2 separate regions of the Homo sapiens genome follow, and region 1 is linked to region 2. The links are contacts of gene promoters, found by promoter capture Hi-C in blood cells and fetal thymus (Javierre and others, 2016). All regions are on one chromosome and are shown on one strand. The core of a region is centred on a gene start or on the middle of the fragment in contact, and the rest is flanking DNA. Distances in the headings are between cores, read along the strand shown. Region 1 overlaps DNER (delta/notch like EGF repeat containing). Region 2 holds the start of DNER (delta/notch like EGF repeat containing).

Region 1 (7,283 bases), core at 260-2,759, 300 kb before region 2:
CAATGTCGCCTGTTTTTAATAAGCATTAACTTACTTGCTGATACATGGGACTCCGCCTGCCTCCTCCCCAAGAAAGCACAGCATTCTATCTCTGCATAAGAAGCTTTATAGGACGGCATCCTTCCTCTTCCACAGTTTTCACAGCCATGGTCTCTAACCTATGTCTGACAGTCCATCTTAATATTACTTTTTGTTTTCAGCTTTTTACACATTCAATAAAAAAGAAAGCGAGGATCCACAAAGAACAGGACAGGAAAGGGGGTTGTTTCTCAATCTATCAGGAAGAAACCAGAGACTTGCAAATTGGTCTCCTTGGACCGATTAATCATGCCAGCTTCAGCATTTGATTGTTATTCTGAACAATTCATGGTCCAATTAGAGGTTTATGCATTTACACTGAGAAATACATGACGTCATTTAGAGCCATTCTGGCACAGGAAGGCCAGGCGGCCTCTCACCTTTGTATTCTGCCAGGCACACACACTCATAGCCATTAACGAGGTCCCTGCAGGTGGCTGCATTCAGGCATGGAGCGGAGAGGCACTCATTATATTCCTCCTCACAGTAGAGGCCATGGTAACCTGAGGGACAGAGAGAAAGGCCCACTGTCAAATGCATCCCATTTACAACCCACGCGGGACCAGCCTGCAAGGAAGGCAGTTGGGGGTATTCATTAGAAAGTATGGTATAAACAGATGGGATTTCAGGAGCTAGATCTCTTGGGGTAAAGTTGAAAGGTGGATTTGGGGGAAGGCTATGAAGAAAGCGCCTGTTCTTATCACACTTTTTCATGATCCCAAGTATAAAAGAAGTGATTCCATTTATCCACTGACATTTTCATCATAGTGCATCCAACAGTGCTGGTGTTAGGGTGATCCAGTCACTGAGTGTGTCTGCTGTGGCCATCAGAGATAGTGAATGAGCAGGATTTACGGCAGGGGAGGAGCAAACAGCTCCCTTCAAGAGTGAGAACCTGGCTCGGTGTGGTGGCTCATGCCACCACAAAGTGCTGGTAATCCCAGCACTTTGGGATACCGAGGCAGGTTGATCACTTGAGCTCAGGAGTTCGAGACCAGCCTGGCCAACATGGTGAAACTCTGTCTCTACTAAAAATACAAAAAATTAGCCAGGCGTGGTGGCGGGCGCCTGTAATCCCAGCTACTCAGTAGGCTGAGGCAGGAGAATCACTTGAACCTGGGAGGCAGAGGTTGCAGTGAGCCAAGATTGTACCACTGCACTCCAGCCTGGGCGACAAGAGCAAAACTCCATCTCAAAAAAAAAACAAAAGAAAACAAAAAGTGTGAGAGCCACATTAGAAAAGTATATCTGTATTTCCTTTTCAAGTCAGAAAAGAAAATTAGCTCAAAATGCTTAACTGAAATTATTGATGAAATGTGAGGGTATTTTTGTTGTTATTGCTTGTTTAAAGATATGATTATATAAATTATAATATTTTAAATTGTACCTAAATGTTTAAATTACTAAAGAAATAATCATGTGAGTGAAGAGAAAATAAACCCACAATTTCTTGATAAAGTGGATTTTACCCTCCTATTTGCAAAACAGGTGTTTATTCTAAAGGACAAGAAGACAACATTCTTTGAGATTCATTCATGAGGGTTATGCTGTTTTCAACTTTTGAAAACATGTGTTACTGCCAATTTGCAGTGAAACCAGGCCATTTTTGTCCAGCCCTGTCCAAACAATGAAAAACATGTGAGTGTTTTCAAAAGTCACACTGACTGTGTTCGTTCTGAATTCAGATAAGCAGAAAAAATAAGCCCTTATCCAAGTAGGAATTAGAACTACTAGCTTTTCCCTAGCCTTTCCAGCTCACAACCAACTCTCAAACTCAGAAAGTCCCATTAGAACATGCTAATATGTTGAACTGCTTTGTTTCTTGTGCCTATCATAAAAGTAGGTTAAGCTCATATTTGCATTATTAACAGAGCACTTTTCAAATATGTTGCCATTTCAGTTGTTTTTGAACAGCTTTCCAAATTTAGGTTGTGATAATGGCCCCTTTGAGGAGCCCTTGACCTACCTAAGACAAATATACTATAGTTTTCAATTCTTCTGAAAAGTAGTATGTTACCCTACTTTTTGTAACTTTAGGGAAATATTTCTATTACCCTTCATTAGATTATTTTCATCATGTAGATAAGAGGTACTCAACTAGCAGCAATTTTGTCCCCCAAAGGACATTTGAAAATGTTTGGAGACATTTTTCGTTGTCACAACTGGAGGCAGGGGGAGGGGTTGCTGCTGGCATCTAGTAGGCAGAGTCAAGAGTGCTGCTAAGCATCCTACAGTTCTACAGGAGGCTGCGCAGGACAGCCTCTCACAACAAGACTATCCAGAAAAAAATAACAATACAGCCAGGTTGAGAAACTCTGTTCTAGACCAGGGGTCAGCAAACTATGGCCCACAGATGAAATCTATCCCAGCCTGTTTTTGCAAATAAAGTTTTATTGGGACACAGCCACAGTCATGCATTTACATATTGTCTATGGCCGTTTTAACACTACAACAGAGGACTGAGTGGTTGCAACAGAGACCATATGGCCTGCAAAGCCTAAATATTTACTGTCTGGCCCTTTGCGCAGAACAAGTTTGCTGATTCTTGATTTAGATTCAATGAAAGATCTTTCTTTTAACAAGAGTTTTGGATATTAACCCCTTATCAAATGTATTGTTTGCAAATATTTTCTGCCATTCCATAGGTCACCTTTTCATGCTGTTGATTGTTCCTTTGTTATGCAGAACCTTTTAAGTTTGAAGCACCACTTGTATATTTGTGCTTTTGTTGCCTGTACCTCGGATATCATATCCAAGAAGTCATTCCTAAGGCCAATGTTATGAAGTTTTTCCCCTACGTTTTCTTCTAGAAGTTTTATACTTCCAGGCCTTACATCTAAGCTTTTAGTCCATTTTGAGTTGGCAGTTATGTAAGGTACAAAATAATACAAATGGCCAACAGGCATATGAAAATAACATCACTAATCAACATCACTAAAAATCAGGGAAATGCAAATTAAAATCATAACAAAATATCACTTCACACCCATTAGGATGGCCATTATAAAAAACAAAACAAAACAAACAAAAACAGAAAATAACAAGTGTTGGGGCAGATTTGAAGAAATTGGAACCTTTGTGCACTGTTGGTAGGAAGGTAAAATGGTACAGCTGCTATGAAAAACTACAGAGGTTCCTCAAAAAATAAAAAATAGAACCACCACATGATCCAGCAATTCCATTGCTGGGTACTCAACCAAAAGAATCGAAAACAGGATCTGGAGAAGGTAATAGCACTCTCATGTTCATTGCAGCATTATTCACAATAACCAAGAAGTACAAACAACTTGATGTCCATTGACAGAAGAACGGACAGGTCAAGCAAAAGTGGTACATAATACAATGGAATATTATTCAGCCTTAAAAAGGAAGAAAATCTTGTCATGTGCTACAATATGGATGAACCTTCAGGACATTACATTACATGAAATAAGCCAGTCACAGAAGGACAAATACTGTATGGTTCCACCTATATGATGTATTTTTAAAATAGTCAAACTCACAGAAGCAGAAAGTAGAATGATGATGATTGCCAGGGTCTGCGGAAGGGGAAAAATGGAGAGCTGCTATTTAACTATGCAAGATGTTATGCAAGATGAATAAGTTCCAGATATCTGCTGGAAAACAGTGTGTGTATGGTAAATAATACTGTAATGTATACTTAAACATTTGTTAAGAAGGTACATTTAATGCTGTGTTTTTTTACCACTATATATATAAATATATATGTATTATTAAATATACATATTTTAACCACTATTATATACAGATATATATTTTACCACTATCTGTATATCTATATCTATATCTCTATATCTATATTTTACCTACTATATATATAGTGGGTAAAAAATACACAACATAAAAAATATATATAGTGGTAAAAAACATACAACATGAAATATATATATATATATAGAGAGAGAGAGAGAGAGAAAGTGGGAGAGAGAGTAAAAATATATACATATATATCCATGTATATGTAAAGAGTTAAGTGTCTTTTGCTTCTCCTAATATGAGAAGCTTTTTGAGGTCATTGTGGAGTACAATCACCAGCAGCACCTTTTCAATTGCATTTGCCCTCCTAGGAGATCTTTTAACAATCAACATGGAAGGGTAATATATAACCATAACCCTGCATGCATCTTTGACCTCTGAATTGAGGTGGCATTTAAATAGACAAAAATCAAACAAGCAAGTTTTGCAAGATCATCTTTAATTGTTTCCATTTTTGAAAACAGTATCATTATCTTTTTATACTAGCAATATGAAAAGCAAATGAGGAAGTTATTTTACAGAGATAATTAAGCTGGTGATGTTTTTCTTCCTTGGGGGGGAAAAAAGATAAAGTTTTCATATTCTAAAACCGTTTCTTCAGAGACGGTAACATTTAAATGTCTTCATGGAAATGTCAAGGCACCCTTTATACTCAGTGCCAAGCAGCCTCAATCGGACGATTTGAATAAAAAGGCACTCCTTCCAAAAGAGAGGGCTTCTGTGAAAATGAGGCTATCACCCCCTGCTGATAATTAATTCAGGCAAACAAATTAGCTCAGGGCAGTATGCCCAGTGTCTGAAAAAAAATTAGGCTAATCCAAAGATTTTTTAAAAATAAAATAAACAATCAAAGGGTGGGATCAGAGTGGCCCTTTCCAAGGCACTGATCTTTATCAGCACTGCTCCCATCTTTGCATGATTTGCTCCCGAATAATCAGTTCCCCTTATTTCTTTCGGATTGACGGGGCACAGCAACCAACCAGATGGGGGGAGTGAGAAAGAGCGGTGGAGATGGCTGCCATGTCTAGCTGAGTGAGCGGATGAAGTCATTATCACCAAGAGGTACCACCAAAGGAAAAACAGACTTAGAGGAGGAAAAACAGGCTTAGAAGAAGACCAGTTTAACTTTGGACGTGTTTAGATTGGGCACACTTGGGCAGGTCCAAGTGGCAGTTGGAAGTATGCGTGTAAATGGCTTAGAAAGAGCACTTTGGGAATTAGTTGCCTGGAAGTGGTTTTGAAATTTTCATTAAAGAAGAAAATGGAAGGGAAAGAAGAAAATGGAAGGGAAAAAAGAAGGGGTCAAGGTCAGACCACATGGGCAGGTGGAGAACAAAGAGCCAGATCAAGACACTGGACAAGGATTGGGCAAAAAGGAGGAGAAAAGCCCAAGGCATGCAGTGCCATGGAAGCCAGAGGATGAAAGGATATCAAGGAAGGTGGGTTAGCAGTGTCAGAGGCTCTAATGAGCAAGAATGACCACTGGACTAGAAAATGAGGAGGTCACTGAACACCCTCAAAACCATGGTTCTTAATGGTGGCTGTGCTAGCCCTTAGATGGTGTTTAGAGAAAATTAGGGGTGGGAGTGATCCTTATGCAATGATTGGAGGGTTCTACTGGAATTTAGGAGGGTGGGAGAGGGCAAAGTTATTAAATATTGCAATGCCCTGGATATTCCTGCACAACAAAGAATGCCTCCTCATTCTTCACAACAATGGACTGTTCCACTGGACCCTCATGTAGGCAAAAACCCTGTTGATAACTTTCCCAAACTAAAACCTAACTTCTTTATATGTACAGCACCATTTTAAGATATACTGAGTTTTAAGCCGGGCACAGTGGCTCACCCCTGTAATCCCAGCACTTTGGGAGGCTGAGGCAGGTGGATCACTTGAGGTCAGGAGTTCAAGACCAGCCTGATCAACATGGTGAAACCCCATCTCTACTAAAAATACAAAAAGTAGCCAGGCGTGGTGGTGGGCGCCTGTAATCCCAGCTACTTGGGAGGCTGTGACACATGAATCACTTGAACCTGTGAGGCAGAGGTTGCAGTGCACCAAGATTGTGCCACTGCACTCCAGCCTGGGAGATAGAGCGAGACTACATCTCAAAAAAAAAAAAAAAAAGATATACTGAGTTTTCCTAGAATGTACTACTTGATAAACCAAGAGAAGATTGTACCAAGAATTATTTATCATTTTAAAAAAACACTTCACAAGAACAACAGCTCTAGTGGAATTTAAATCTCCAATAAAGAATATCTATATCCATAAAACAAAAACATCAACAAAAATCACTTCCTCAGATAGTTTTCTGACAATGCTATTTACAGTAGCTCTTCCCACCAGCAACTCATCACGACACTCAGCTGATTTCCATCGTAGCATTTGTAACTGTCTGAAATCCTATTTTTATCATAGTTCTTTACTTGATTATCACGTCTCTTCCTCCACTACAGGATAAGCTTGAGGGTAGAGTCTGCAAACGCAGTATTCACAGCTGTACCTGTGGTATCTGTGTCGGAAAAGGCTACACAAATAAAACTGTTACATAAGCACCCAAAATGTTATCAATTGATTCGATGCACTTTTAAAATGTTTCCATGGTGCTCCAGGACCTTCCAGGTGCCCTGGGTACTGCCTACAAAGCTAAAGAACAGGGTCTCCACCTACACGGAGCATCCAGTGTGGTAGCAAGTTAGCAGCATCTGCCTTATGTCAGGCCCTTTAGATGTGTTAACTTGTTTAATTCTCATAAAAACCCAAGGCGATGGGCATGAATCATCCCAATTTATAGATGAGGAATTAAGAGTTAGAGAGGTAAAGAAATTTGCCCAAAGCCATGTAGTCAATCCTGTGTGTTCTTCCTTCTTTCCCATGTTGCCTCCAAACGCATTGTCTAGTATGTTAGTTTATTAGGGCTCCCATGAAAATACTATAGCACTGGTTGAATTAAACAAAAACTTATTTTCCCAGAGTTTTGGAGGCTAGAAGTCCATGTCAAGGTGTCAACAGGTATGGTTTCCCCTGAGGCCTCTCCCCTTGGCTTGCAGACGGCCGCCTTCTCTATGAGTCCTCACATGTCCTTTTCTCTGTGTGTGAGTGCTTCTCATAAGGACACCGGTGCTATTGTATTACAGCCCTACCCTTATAATCTCATTGAACCTTAATTACCTCTTTAAAGGCCCTATCTCCAAAGACATTGGAGGTTACAACTTCAACATATGAATTTGGGGTGGAGGGCCTAATTTAGTCCTTAACACCTAGAATCTGAGTTTCTCAGTCACAAGACTGTTGGTATTTTGGACCAGATCATAATCGCGGGGAGCTTCCCTGTGCACTGTAGAATGTTGAGTCGCATCCCTGACCTCTACACAATAGATTCCAATAATACCATCCTTCCCAGGTGTAATGATTAAAAATGTCCC
Region 2 (6,885 bases), core at 718-3,217:
GGAAAAGTCATATAAATCATCAATCCACAGGGAAAATTAGCGTGAGTGCATTCCTTGGTTTTTGATTTGCAGTTATTTTGACTTTTGCAAAAGCAAGATTTTGTTCTAATGGTTAGAATGGCTCCAACAGGCATTTCCCCCAAGAAGCTATCATGTCCCAAATCTACTCCTGAGGCTCACATCACACAAATTCTTCCTCCTCCTCATCACCTCCCTTCAAGTAACTAAAGCTTATTGTAACCAGTAAACAAAGAGGAAGAGCACAGTGTTGAAAAGATAGATTCAGTTTGCTAATTTGCTATTAAATGAAATAAAAAGATTCTAGATAAATGCAAAAAAATCTGGCTGTCAAGGTCAAGTTTCTCAATCCCATTTACCTCTAAAAAATGTAAAACCTGTCATAATGAAAGGGCAGCCTTTTTCCCCATTGAAAGAACCTATTTGAGCATTCTCAAAGTAACTCTCCAATCATTGTTATCAAATTTATATGAAACAAACTCCTCCACCCTAAATGTAAGGAAGATAGTATCTGATCCCAAATATCGTCCATATTCATGTGGTTTAATGTAATCATTTCAGATAACTTCATTATTTGCCCTACCCTGCAATACAGGTTTGGGGATTTTCTACCCGTACACACAGTCCTACCAAATTGCCTACTGGAAATGTTGATGTTAATAGGTTTCACAGAGCTTTAACGGACTTGTAAAAGCCCCAGATATTATTTTCTGCCAAATTCTCCTGAAAACCCCAAATTCACGGGCGGCTGCTGGCTACATCCCATCGTCCCATCCCTCGCACCGCCCCCACGCTTTCTGGCGGCTTCCCGGTGCCCTGCTCACGCCCCGGCTGCCAGCCCCAAGCGTGCGCCCCGTGGAGCGTCCGGCAGGAAGGGCGGCCCTGCCAGCGCCACGTACAATGCCCCCTCGAATGCCTCCGACTGTTCCAACACTGCTCCTAAGCTTAGAGAGGGCTGGTCGCAGGCCGAGGGGAGGCAGCTGCCCTCCTCGTCCTCTGGCTGCTTTGTCACAGCCCTCAAGGGCGTAGGAAGAGAAGGAGAAAGTGCCCCACCACCTGGCACGGGGCCCACCATCACCTGCCTCCCACACCGCACACCCTTTACACACACAGGGTCCAGCCGGACGTGGAGCGTGGACCACCTGGACATTGAACACCTCGCCGGGGACGCTCGGAGCCGGCTCCTCCGCGCTGCCAAGGCGGGCACCGCTCAAGTGGTTCTTGGCTCGGCCCGGCCTGGAGGGGCGCGCCACTCAGTGGCCAACCGGAGCGTCTAGAGCCCCGCGCGAGAAGTGCCGAGCCCCGGAGCGGCACACCCCGAGAGCCCGGCTGGCCCCGCCCGGGAACCAGGGCGGGTAAGGGAATCAGGGTCGGCCCGGGGGTCCGCGTCCACGCGGGCCAAGAGACTGGATCCATCTTCTTCCCAAAGTGGGAAAGCCTGTGTCAGGCGTGCCCATTGTCGGGCAGCAGCAGCAGGGCCGGCGGGAAGAGGCTGCTGGTCCCGGACCAGCGCCCCGCACCGCGCCCGCCGCTTCCACTCACCTGGCAGTTGGCGCCGGAGATCCCGGCGGGGCAGGTGCAGCTGTAGCCAGGCTCGCCGGCGGGGGCCGGGTGCTGCGGGTCCGGCTCAGGGCGCGAGGTGCACACACCCCCATTCCGGCAGGGCTGCGCGGCGCACGGCCCGGGCGCAGACAGGGGCGCGGCGGGCACCGGGTTGGCCAGGGAGCTGCCTCGGGGCCCCGCTCCGAGCAGCAGCAGCAGCAGGGCCAGCGCGGGCAGCAGCTGCGCACCGGGCGCCTGGGCGCGGCGGGGCTGCATGGCCGGCCGGGAGGGCGCGGGAGCCGGAGCCAGGACGCAGTGACGGCGGCGGCGGTGGCAGTGGCGACGAGAGCTGCGAGAGCGACGGTGGCGGCTAGGGCTGCTCCGCCGGGCCGGGCGCCTCCTGCAGCTGCGGGATCCGCGGTTCCCCGGGCAACGGCGGGCGGGGCCTGCGGGGCGGGGCGGGGCGGGGCGAGCGGGGGGCGGGGCGCCTGGCGGCCCCGGCTCTGGAGCATCGGGGAGTGGGGCCTCTTTCCCCGCAGGGAGTTGGGATGGGGGTTGCAGGAAGACGATGCGGGACCCCATCCCCCAGGAGTGGGTCGAAGTCACGGGTGTGTCCAGAAGCAGCCCTGGTACAGGGAGCCAGGCGACGCTGGGGCAGGAAAGGGGCTGGAGAGGTCCACGAGTGAGGGAAGCGGGGCTTTGAGGGGCTTCCAGAGCCGGGAGCACCGAGTGCGCCCCAAGGCCCGGGCAGGGCAGGGCGCGGGAGGCGGCAGGGCGCCTCAAGGGAGGGGCGGCGCGCTCGCAGCAGCCACCTTTGGCCTCTTGGCGCAGAATCTGCGAGACCGCCGCGGGGCCCGGCCTTGCCTCATCCCCCGGGACTGCTCCCCTTCCCACAGCGCTTCTCCCGGCACCCCAAGCCCTCCCGCCCGGCCACGGAACCCTGCGCCCGACGCTTGCTCAGCAGCCGGGTTCGCCTGGAAGTGACCTCGCCTCCGCCAGGCGGACCCGGGGCCCTTGTCCTTGGTGCTGACCCAGCTGTCTCATTCTCGCCGGCCCTTTCCAGAGCGCGGGGCCTTGCCGCACCACTAAGGAACGTCTGGCCGCGCCGTGTGAGGCCGGGAAGAGGCCTTGGTGTAAGGCTGTCCACCCCTGTCGTTGAACCTAGGGGGAAACTGAGGCCCAGAAAGTCTGGATTCGAATCCAGTGGGTCAATTGACTCCCAGCCCAGAACGCCCGAAAGAACAGTTCAAAAGCCCAGGTTGGCAGAGGCGCTGCTAGCGGCAGGAATCGCAACAGGGGACTCTGCATAAAAGGAGCATTCGCTGTGACCTACTTCGGAGGGGATGGGGGGGGCGGGCTCTTCTACACGTCCTGGCTGGGCTGGCTGGTGCTGCGACCGCCAAGGAGGCTGCACTCCGCTGAATAAAGCGCATCCAGCCTTGTCTCCTCCACCTGACCTTTCACAATCTCTATTACCTGTGGGTTCCCAGGTACCTGTTACCTTCTTTTTAAGGTGGCCAAATGAAAAAAGAAAATGTGATTCCCCTGGATTGACAGTCTGGGCCAATTTTTTTTTTAGTAAACACAAAAATAGCTTGTTTTGTTTTTTAAAAAAATTAAAGTAAGGACTCCATGTGAACTTCTGCTGTAGGTGTCACAGACGCCAGGGATTGCTAAAAGTCCTCCAGTGGAAACAGAAGGCAAACTGCACGGCTTCTCCCTGTCCTGTTCAAACGCAGAAGCAAATGTCACACTTTTCTGCTTCAGGAGATACCTAAAATTCATGTGGCCATTGCAGGAAATCACTGAACCCCAGACAGATCTGCAAGCGGAGAATTCAGACCTCCAAGTGGATAGAGTTATTACATTTTTCCTCACACCTGCTGTCTTTCAATCTAAGACCTCTTCCTCTTGAAAATTCTTAATTTTGTGCCACGCCAGCACCCTCTGCTGGTACTAGTGTCGTCATTCAGGTGGTTTCTGTGCCCCTGGAGTTGCGTTCTTTCCTGAAACTAACTTCTCTTACCTTAAATCCTGGACTAGTGGATAGTGCTCTTCATTGCCTTCCATCAAGACACACACACAAATGAAGCAAGATGAAGTGTAAAAAGGTTGTGAGTTAATTAAAATCACATTTCAGTTTATTGTACTTTTGCCTGAGCAACCCCTTTGTTTGTGTATTTCATATTATTTTGAAATATAGGATAATTAAAAGTGGTTTTATTTTCTGGATGCTGGTTACTGCATGTTTCAGATAATTTTCCTTGCTAAAAGTATTCTCTTAGTCTTTAATCTTTAAAATGCATATTATGGCAGAGACAATACAAGATCCTTTCATTTTTTCCAGGCTAAAAAGGAAAACTATAATCTTCCAGCACCTTAGCTTATAGGCAGAGCAACATGATTAATGCTGGGGAAAAAGCATATTGATTTGCATGTCCTGGTCCCAAAACATCCATGTACTAAGTGCCATGAAAGTGTTAACTATTATTACTGTTACCACGCTCAGAGAAATGGGTCTTTTCTGTAGATTCCGAAAGCTGATCTGGTACTTTACTGACAGCTTTTCAACCATCTGCAAGATCCCCCAAATACTCAACTAAAAAGTCCAACCAATGTATTACCCTGTCACATTAGCAAAAGTGATTAAAATAATATTGCCTCTATGTTTAAATGAAAGCTAAAAATCCAGGCTTTTATTTTATATTATTCCCAACTTACAGAATATCAAATCTTCATCCTGACCCACCTCATTTCCTTTTTTGATAGAGTCCTTATATTGACAAGTCAAAGGCCAAATATACCAATAATGTATCTTGATTTTAGCAAAAAAAAAAAAAGTGATAACATTTCTCATGATCACCTTATGGAGAAAATTCAGCTAAGTGGACTCAAAACTGTTTAACAACATACCAATCGGGGGGTCACTATCAAGCTACAAGAAGTTTTTAGGGAAATAACCATGGAGTTGAAATTTTTGGCAGCTGATAAAATTCATACCAGAATCAACATGTAAATTTATCTTAATCAGTAAAAATGCTGAGCTAAAATAAATGAAATGGAATATGAGGTGAATGATAGTACATTCGATCTTACTGCTACTTCTTCGTAAGACTTTCTCTTCCTGCCCTCCTTAAAGTTAGATGTGGTCATATTATTGGCCATGGCCATAAAATGTGCAGGGAATAGTATGCCCCACTTCCAGATGGAAACTTTTAAAATCCTGCCCATGTCCCACTGTGTTCTCCTCTCCTTAGCGTGACAACTGGCAAGATTCCAAGAGGTGCAATGGGGGCTCCTCCAGCTTGTGTCTCTGAGAGAGGACAATGTGAAGCAATGGGAACCTGCAATGGGCATATGACATAAGAAATAAACCACTATAGTTTTAAACCACTGAGTCTCAACGATGTAAGATAACTCGAGGCCACACACTAGTAAATGGCAGAGCAGGACTGATTGTTCCCAATGAGCCAGGCAGCACGACTAGTGATCTCACATGTACTATTTCTGCCAGGTAGAAGGCTGGATCCCATTAGAAATTCTAAGGCTTCTGGATTTGGTGGAAAGGAAGAATTTCAAAACAATTTACAGGACTCATTTCTCTTCACAGATCTAGTTTAGAGTTACACCTCAATTGCATTATACCCATAGGTTATTATAAAAATGTTACAAACTAATGCAAATATAATTGTCTTTATTTTTTGCATTTTGTCACAAATGGAGAAAATCAACTTTCCAGGCCAGCAGGTTCACAGGTAGCCAATTGGGAACCACTGGCCTCAATGAGAACACCACTCCTGATGAGGTTTTCATACTCTGTCCACCACGGCATCCTGTGAGAATGCTAGCCTGGGTGCACCGTGTCATCATTCACAGACTTAGAAACTTATATTTAGAAGAAATTGCAAAGGTTACCAAGCTTGATCTCCCAGGATTTGAACTAAGACCCAAACTAAATTATTTATCATAAGATGATAAATCCCCTCCAACTTACCTGGGATTTAGCACCCACCTTCTTTCCAAAGGAATCTAAGTTTTCTGCAGCCATCAGCAGATGGTCTCTCTATTTCCCTCTGCACCTTCATTTGCCTGTAGACAGTGACGTCATTCCTGCTACCCCTTCCCACATCCAGTTAACCTTTAAGGATACAAGAAAACATCCCTCCTCCCTGCAGAGGGTGGGACTGGATGCTGGATTGAAGCTGGAGTCAGCTTGAAAGAAAAAGTTGGCCACGTATAGAGAGAAGGGACACATTGCCTAGTGACAGCTTTCTACCATGAAGAACAGCACCAGCCTACTTTGGCCAGAACAGTTCTATCAGGACCCATGACAACACTGGGCAAGTTATTCTTTTTGACCTTCAGATGTCATATAACATGGAGAGGAGACAGAAACCCCAATTTTATAGAGCTCTAGGTGATGATAGTGGTGATGTAGAGTATTTACAGTGTACCAGACACTAATATGAGTATTCTTTACATATTATCTCATTTAATCCTAATGCCAGCATGATGAGGTAGGAAGTATGACTGGTGCCCAATTAAAGGACAAAATTGAGGTGAAATGAGCTGAAGTAAAATGTCTAAAGTCACTCAGTTTGCAAGAGGCATGGCCAAGACTCAAACATAAGGAGGAGTCTGGCTTAGGAGCCACGCTTTGTTTGAATCTCTACTCTGTATCTGATATATCAATCTCCTACAGTGCAGAGTCTGACACTAAGTAGATACTATGTATCCTTCAATGTAAAGTCTGATACTTAGTGGATATTGCACATGAGCTATAGGGACAAATATAGATATACATATAGAATATATGTACATATGTGTGATGTATATATCATATAAATATGGATGATGTATGTATTGTGTGTGATGTACATCATGTATGTATGTGTGATGTGCATCACATATGTGACATATGTATCATATGTCTGTATGTATCAATAATATATGGTATGATGCACGGTGCTTGCTGGGTTTTGGTTTATTGTGGGGAGGCACTTGAGAGTTTTAGTTAGTTTGCTCACTTGCCTCTCTGCAAGGTAACTACTACTCCTGATTTGTGACGGTGTAAGATGTGAAAATCGGAAGGGACTCTCCAAAGATCTTTTCTGAGGAGGAAGAGGATGCACTGAGGAAGCTAATAGCTGTCGAGGCTGAGTAGCTGCAGAACCAGAATGAGGCTCCAAGCCTCCAAATCACCAGTTTATGCTTTATCCACCTTCCCATAGTACCTTTCCTCCACTTCCAGTATTTCCTACAAAACAATCAATCAACCCAAAAAGGCAGTGTAAAAAATATAAATACTAAGTACATGGGAGTTTT

What was found. The method cuts DNA at HindIII sites, captures the fragments that hold promoters and counts their contacts. A CHiCAGO score of 5 or more calls a contact.
Region 1: a fragment that was not itself captured here is called in contact with the fragment with the promoter of DNER in region 2 in 1 of 17 cell types (endothelial precursors); the score reaches 5.6 in endothelial precursors.

What each region holds. Positions count from the first base shown.
Region 1 is chr2:229,417,650-229,424,932 of GRCh38, forward strand. DNER (delta/notch like EGF repeat containing) reads right to left here. Exons shown (of 13, transcript NM_139072.4): 9 at 459-581. Among named protein-coding and RNA genes, the nearest start is that of PID1, 150 kb to the left of the region's middle. The HindIII fragment of the contact is 2,816 bases long and covers 102-2,917 here.
Region 2 is chr2:229,712,588-229,719,472 of GRCh38, forward strand. It overlaps DNER (delta/notch like EGF repeat containing), which reads right to left and starts at 1,968. Exons shown (of 13, transcript NM_139072.4): 1 at 1,561-1,968. The coding sequence starts at 1,836. RefSeq lists silencers at 1,799-1,908, 1,979-2,038 and enhancers at 1,876-2,650, 2,651-3,424. The HindIII fragment of the contact is 4,517 bases long and covers 961-5,477 here.